2 separate regions of the Homo sapiens genome follow, and region 1 is linked to region 2. Evidence: promoter capture Hi-C in 16 types of primary human blood cells and fetal thymus (Javierre and others, 2016). All regions are on one chromosome and are shown on one strand. The core of a region is centred on a gene start or on the middle of the fragment in contact, and the rest is flanking DNA. Distances in the headings are between cores, read along the strand shown. Region 1 overlaps SLC6A16 (solute carrier family 6 member 16). Region 2 holds the start of GYS1 (glycogen synthase 1).

Region 1 (3,061 bases), core at 410-2,909, 320 kb before region 2:
TTATTTTGGACCTCCAGTTACACATTTTAGGCCATTTGATATTGTCTCACAGTCACTAATGCTCTGGTAATTGTTTTCAGTCTTTTTTTTTTCTTTGTGCTTCATTTTGGATTGTTTCTATTGCTATATCTTTAAGTTCACTGATTTATTAAAATCTGCCAGTAATCTTCAGTGAAATTTTCATTTCAGGTGTTGTATCATCTCTAGAAGTTCTATTTGATGTTTAAAATATATCATGGCTAGGCATGGAGGCTCATGCCTGTAATCCCAGCACTTTGGGAGGCCATGGTAGCTGGATCACATGAGATCAGGAGTTCGAGACCAGCCTGGCCAACATGGCAAAACCCTGTCTCTACTAAAAAAAAAAAAAAAAAAAAAAAATAGCCAGTTGTGGTGGTGCACACCTGTAATTCCAGCTACTTGGGAGGCTGAGGAAGGAGAATTGCTTGAAACTTGGAGGCAGAGGCTGCAGTGAGCTGAGATCAGTGTGGGCAACAGAGTGAGACTCTGTCTCAAAAGAGAAAATATCTATCTGTCTGTCTAGCTAGCTAGCTATCTAGCTATCTTATATTCCTCATTCTGTTCATGTTTTCCTTTTAAGTCCTTGACCATATTAAGCATATTTGTAACAGCTATTTTAGTGTTATGGTGTGTTAATTCCATTAGTCTATCATTTCTGTTTTTGTTGTCTGATTATGGGTCACTTTTCCTGCTTTTTTGCATGTCTAGTAATTTTTGACTAGATGGTTGACATTATGAATTTTTTGTTGTTCAGTGCTAGGTTTGTCTGTATTATCTTAAGGAATGTTGGCCTTTGTTGTGACAGGCAGTTAAGTTACTTGAAGATCAGTTTTGGCTGTTTAAGGGTTGCTTTTAAGAATTTTTTTTTTTCAGGTCTAAAGTAGTCCTACTACTAGAACTAGAGCTAGTTTATGCCACTTTAAATGTTCCAAGTATTCAGTAAAGTCTCTCCACACTGGCTGATGGAAACTTGAGTAATTCTTGTTCTTCTCCAAGTTCTAGGAATTGTTTTACCTGTAGTTCCCCAGTACTTTTCTTTCCTTGGAATTTATTCTTTGCCTGTTCTTATGAGGTTTCATACTATACATGTGCAGGTTGATATTTAGCTAATGGCTCGAAGGTACTTTATCCAGATTCCTAGAGCTCTTTCTCTGTGGCTCCCTTCTGTTGAGTACTTAGCCCAGCTAATTCTAGTCACCTAAGCCTTCCTGAACTGACTTTTGCCTCCTCAAGTGCTGAGACTGCCAGGCTCTGTTTGTATTCTTCCTCCTGTGCCAAAGTTTGGAAATTAGCAGAAAAATGGGGCAATCGTGCAATTAGTTACCTTGTTTTCTGGCCTTTTTTTAGAGATTGCAATGCTGTACTGCCTTTGTTTAATATGTGAAAATAGTTGTTTTAATTATTTGTACAGTTTTTTTTTTTTGAGACGGAGTCTCGCTGTGTTGCCCTGGCTGGAGTGCAGTGGTGCGATCTCTGCTCACTGCAAGCCCCACCTCCTGGGTTCACGCCATTCTCCTGCCACAGCCTCCCGAGTAGCTGGGACTACAGGCGCCCGCCACCATGCCCGGCTAATTTTTTGTATTTTTAGTAGAGATGGGGTTTCACCATGTTAGCCAGGATGGTCTTGATCTCCTGACCTCGTGGTCCGCCCGCCTCGGCCTCCTAAAGTGCTAGGATTACAGGCGTGAGCCACGGCGCCTGGCCTATTTGTACAGTTTTGTAGTGTTTTTGTGGAGGTAACTCCAGACACTGTTTTGCTTTCATGGTCAAAAGTGGAAATTTCTTCTCCCCATTTTTATCTGGATCCTGTATATCCTTCATTTCTATGTTTTCTTAAAATTATCTTTTAATTAATTAATTTTATTTTATTATTATTGTTATTATTTTTGAGATAGGGTCTTACTCTGTTGCCCAAGCTGGAGTGCAGTGGTGCAATCTTGGCTCACTGCAACCTCCCCCTCCTGGATTCAAGTAATTATCTCACCTCAGCCTTCCGAGTAGCTGGGGCTACAGGTGTGTCCCACCATGCCTGGCTAATTTTTGTATTTTTTGGTAGAGATGGGGTTTCACCATATTGGCCAGGCTTGTCTTAAACTCCTGACTTCAAGTGATCCTCCTGCCTTGGCTTCTCAAAGTGCTGGGATTACGGGCATGAACCACTGCACCTGGCCTATTTTATTTTATTTTTTTAGAGAATGAGGTCCCACTCTGTTGCTCAGGCTGGAGTTCAGTGGTGTGATCATAGCCCACTGCAACCTTGAACTCCTGGGCTCAAGCGATCCTCTCCACTTAGCCTCCCAAATAGCTGGGACCACTGGCGTGTCCCACTATGCCTGGCTAATTTTAATTTTAATTTTTTTTTTTTTTTTTTGGTAGAGATGGGTTTTCACTGCATTGTCAAGGCTTATCTTGAATTCCTGGCCTCAAGTGATCCTCCTGCCTTGGCCTCCCAAAGTACTAGGATTACAGGCATGAGCCACTGTGTCTGGCCTATCCTTCATCATTCTTGTTCTTGTATTGCTCAATTTGGCTTTACTCACAGGAATTTCTCCTCATTGTGGCCTCTGGGTTGGAAAAGATCCCTGGTTGGTTAATTTTAAGAGTTCATAGAATCTAGTCTGCCCTGGTCCCTTCAGTTTCTATTGTTGACTCCATGCACTCAACTGTTATTGGATTAGGCAAGACATCTTCTAGTTTTAGCTGCTGTTCTCTAATAGCCTTCCCATGATTTCTGGTGAGTACCTGTTGATTATTTTGAGAGACTGGTTTCCCTGTCCCCCATCCCCAGGTCTGTCAGATGCTCTCTTGCTTCCTTTGTTTCCTCCCACACAGATGCTGATTCTATACAGGTCTGTGGCTCTTGTGGTTTGTTCTCATAGACTTGTCTTTTGGGGTTTATCTTGATATTGTAAATATTATCCATGGATTTTGGGCTTGCAATCTAGTAGAACTACTTGTTTTCATGTGAGTATTTGGGAAGATTTTAAAACAATGTTGCTGTTATTGCCATTACCTTCCCAGGATTTTACTCTATATTTAA
Region 2 (3,059 bases), core at 224-2,723:
ACCTGGCTAATTTTTGTATTTTTAATAGAGACGGGGTTTCGCAATGTTGGCCACGAACTCCTGACCTGAAGTGATCCGCCCGCCTCGGCCTCCCAAAGTGCTGGGATTACAGGCATGAGCCACCACGCCAGGCCAAAATCGCTTCTTTATTCAGGTAATTGAGCAGGTGCCAGGCCAAGTTTCCTGGCCTCTCCTTCATTCACATGTATTCATTCATTCAAATATTCAAGTGATAATTTATTGAGCATTTACACTGAGACGTAGCCCGTGTGAAATACTGGAAATATGAAAATGGCCAAAACGGTAGCATGACAAGATCCCGATTTCTGGGTCCCTAATCCTTCAGTCCTCTCCACTAAGACTCTCTTGTTCCTCGACAATTTCTTCCCACTAAAGGCTCACTAGGCGCCCTCGCGCTCTCAGACACACTGAACAGGTACCTGCCTGTGCTTCCAGCTTGGAACTCAAGTGCCATTGGCACCACTAACAATCCAAGGCTCCCAAATGGCTCGAAGCGCAAGGTCCTACAACCCTCCTCATCACACACTGGCGCCAAGGACTGCGGAACCGGCCGTTGCGCCAAGATGATTTTGAAAGTTGGAGTTCCTATAGCATGATGGGGCCAGACCCGAGATTCTGGGATCCCAGCCCCCTCCCCGCCTCAGATCCAGAAGTCCAGCCCCCATGTCCCCTTCTCCCCCAGATCTGGGTGGCCGAGCTTCCTCCTCTTTCAGACCCAGGAGTCTGAACCCCCAGATCCCCCCTCCCTCAGACCCAGGAGTCAGGGCCTCCAGCATCCTCCTCTCTCAAACTCGAGACTGCTAGCTCGCTCCTCACCCTCCATGCACCCACACTTACAACGGTTGCCATGATGCTCACCAACTGCCAGAGTCCTAGCGGAAACGGAAACGCGCGAGGAGCGAGATGTTCTGGCTCCTCTAGGCTAGCTGGTTCTTCAAAGATCTCGATGGTTCCTCATAAATATGTAAATATTGTGGGGGCGTGGCGGGACTTTATGCCCCGCCCTCCCACCGAGGCTGCGCTGGAAGACGGGCGTCCGGAACTCCTGGGTCCATTCCCAATGTCTCCTGGCTCCTCCTCCTTTTGCTCAGCCCCACCACCGCCCCGCTCAGGCCGATTGCAAAATTCTTAGCTGTTCTTTGAGTAACCACACGTCCTCCACGCTCCTTTCCTCTTTATCCCACCCTCCTCCTCCTCCCCACTTTGAGGCCTCCAGCTCCAGATTGACAGAGCTGAAGGCCACTCGTTTCCGTAAAGCGCAGCGGCAAGCTCCGCCCCCTGGAGGTCTCACGGCCGAGGCGGGGCCGGGACACAGCGACTCCAACCCGTTCCACCAATGAGGACACGCGGAAATCCCCGCCCCCGGGCGTGGGCCAATGGCGCTGGCTGGGGGGGGCGGCCACCGCCTCCTGGCGGCTGCGAGGTTTCACTGCAGGGGCGCCAGTGGGCTCAGTGACGCTGCGGCCTCCTTCTGCCTAGGTCCCAACGCTTCGGGGCAGGGGTGCGGTCTTGCAATAGGAAGCCGAGCGTCTTGCAAGCTTCCCGTCGGGCACCAGCTACTCGGCCCCGCACCCTACCTGGTGCATTCCCTAGACACCTCCGGGGTCCCTACCTGGAGATCCCCGGAGCCCCCCTTCCTGCGCCAGCCATGCCTTTAAACCGCACTTTGTCCATGTCCTCACTGCCAGGACTGGAGGACTGGGAGGATGAATTCGACCTGGAGAACGCAGTGCTCTTCGAAGTGGCCTGGGAGGTGGCTAACAAGGGTGAGCACGCCAGGCGTCGGGGCCCTTGACGAGAAGGACAGTAGTGGATGGGGGCCCGGAACTCTGAGTTGTAGGAGGACGGGGCTACTAGGGGAACCCTTGTGACCTGGGCAAGGAGGCTGTGTCCTTGAGGAGGGGCTGGGAAGCCGGAGGTGGGTGGGAGAGGGATGGTTCGTTTGACTTAAGATGAAAGGAGGCTGGAAGCCCGGGTTCTGGGTCCTAGGGAAGAGGGCGCTAAAATGAGACTCCTAGGTCCTGGAGGCAGGCTTCCGAGAGACTAGATACCTGGGTCCTGAACAGGGAAGGGGATGGGGGGATGGGATTTCTGCGTGCAAACCTGGGAAGCTGCCGGGGTTTCAGACCTATGACCCTAACAGCATGGTCTAGGGGATAAAACTCCAGATTTGAGAGAGAGCTGACTGGGAGATAGGAGGCCTGAGCGGCGGTGGGAGGACCTGAGGATCTGGCTGCTTAAGAATAAAGATGGGACGGGCTGGAGACTGTAATGAATGCCTGGGCTTTGAAGGAGCTGAGGGCCTGAGCTATTAGTTCCTAGGAGTAGAGGAGCCCATGGCCTGGGACACATGCGTACTGGAATAGGGGAAGGCTGGGAAGTCCTAAGTTAGTCAGAGGCTGGGCCCTAGGATGGGAGGGGCTAGGAGCCTGCATTTCTGTGTCTTGGGCTTCAGAAAGCTGAGGTTCTGGCCTTGGAGAAGGCTGGGGCTGAAATCCCCAGGAACAAGCCAATCTCACACCTCAAAGAGCAGGGTCTGGGGGGTTGCTTTGCTGGGTCTTGGAGGAGAAAGGGACTGTGTCTCCCAGGAGGAGAGGGGGCCCGTGAACACCCAGCCGGGTATCGCCAGGGCCTGGGCTCCAGGATGGGAGGAGGCTGGGGGCTGGGGCTCCTGGGTCTGGGATAGGGTCATGGGAGAGGCAGAGCCCTGCATGCTGGTGTCCCTAGTCAGGGAGAGGAAATTGGGAGGCAGGTCAGCAAGGTCCCTGGGGGCAGGGAATGACCATGCAGGCTTCTCTTGGGCAATGGTGAGAAGCTGGATTGGCCATGAGGGGGTCTCCCTCACTGGGTTTTGGAGCCTGGCTGCGATTTAAACCCAGCTCCTGTGAGCTGGGAACTCGGGAACCTGAGTCCGGGTAGTCAGTCCTCAGCTCTGCCATCCTTAGAGCCCCAGTGCCTAATTCCTTCAGACCAAGGGGTCCCGGCACCCAGCCCCTTCTCTCTCAGACCCAGAAGTCTAGCCTGAGCCCCCTCCTCCT

What was found. Contacts are between HindIII fragments. The CHiCAGO score rates a contact against its expected background, and 5 or more counts as called.
Region 1: a fragment that was not itself captured here is called in contact with the fragment with the promoter of GYS1 in region 2 in 1 of 17 cell types (endothelial precursors); the score reaches 5.1 in endothelial precursors.

The regions. Positions count from the first base shown.
Region 1 is chr19:49,316,189-49,319,249 of GRCh38, reverse strand. All of the region lies in intron 1 of SLC6A16 (solute carrier family 6 member 16), which reads left to right. Among named protein-coding and RNA genes, the nearest start is that of SLC6A16, 7.5 kb to the left of the region's middle. The HindIII fragment of the contact is 3,441 bases long and covers 1-3,061 here.
Region 2 is chr19:48,991,723-48,994,781 of GRCh38, reverse strand. It overlaps GYS1 (glycogen synthase 1), which reads left to right and starts at 1,473. Exons shown (of 16, transcript NM_002103.5): 1 at 1,473-1,787. The coding sequence starts at 1,670. It overlaps RUVBL2 (RuvB like AAA ATPase 2), which reads right to left and starts at 895. Exons shown (of 15, transcript NM_006666.3): 1 at 859-895. The coding sequence starts at 870. RefSeq lists enhancers at 997-1,086, 1,777-1,916 and a silencer at 1,207-1,566. The HindIII fragment of the contact is 2,230 bases long and covers 1-1,561 here.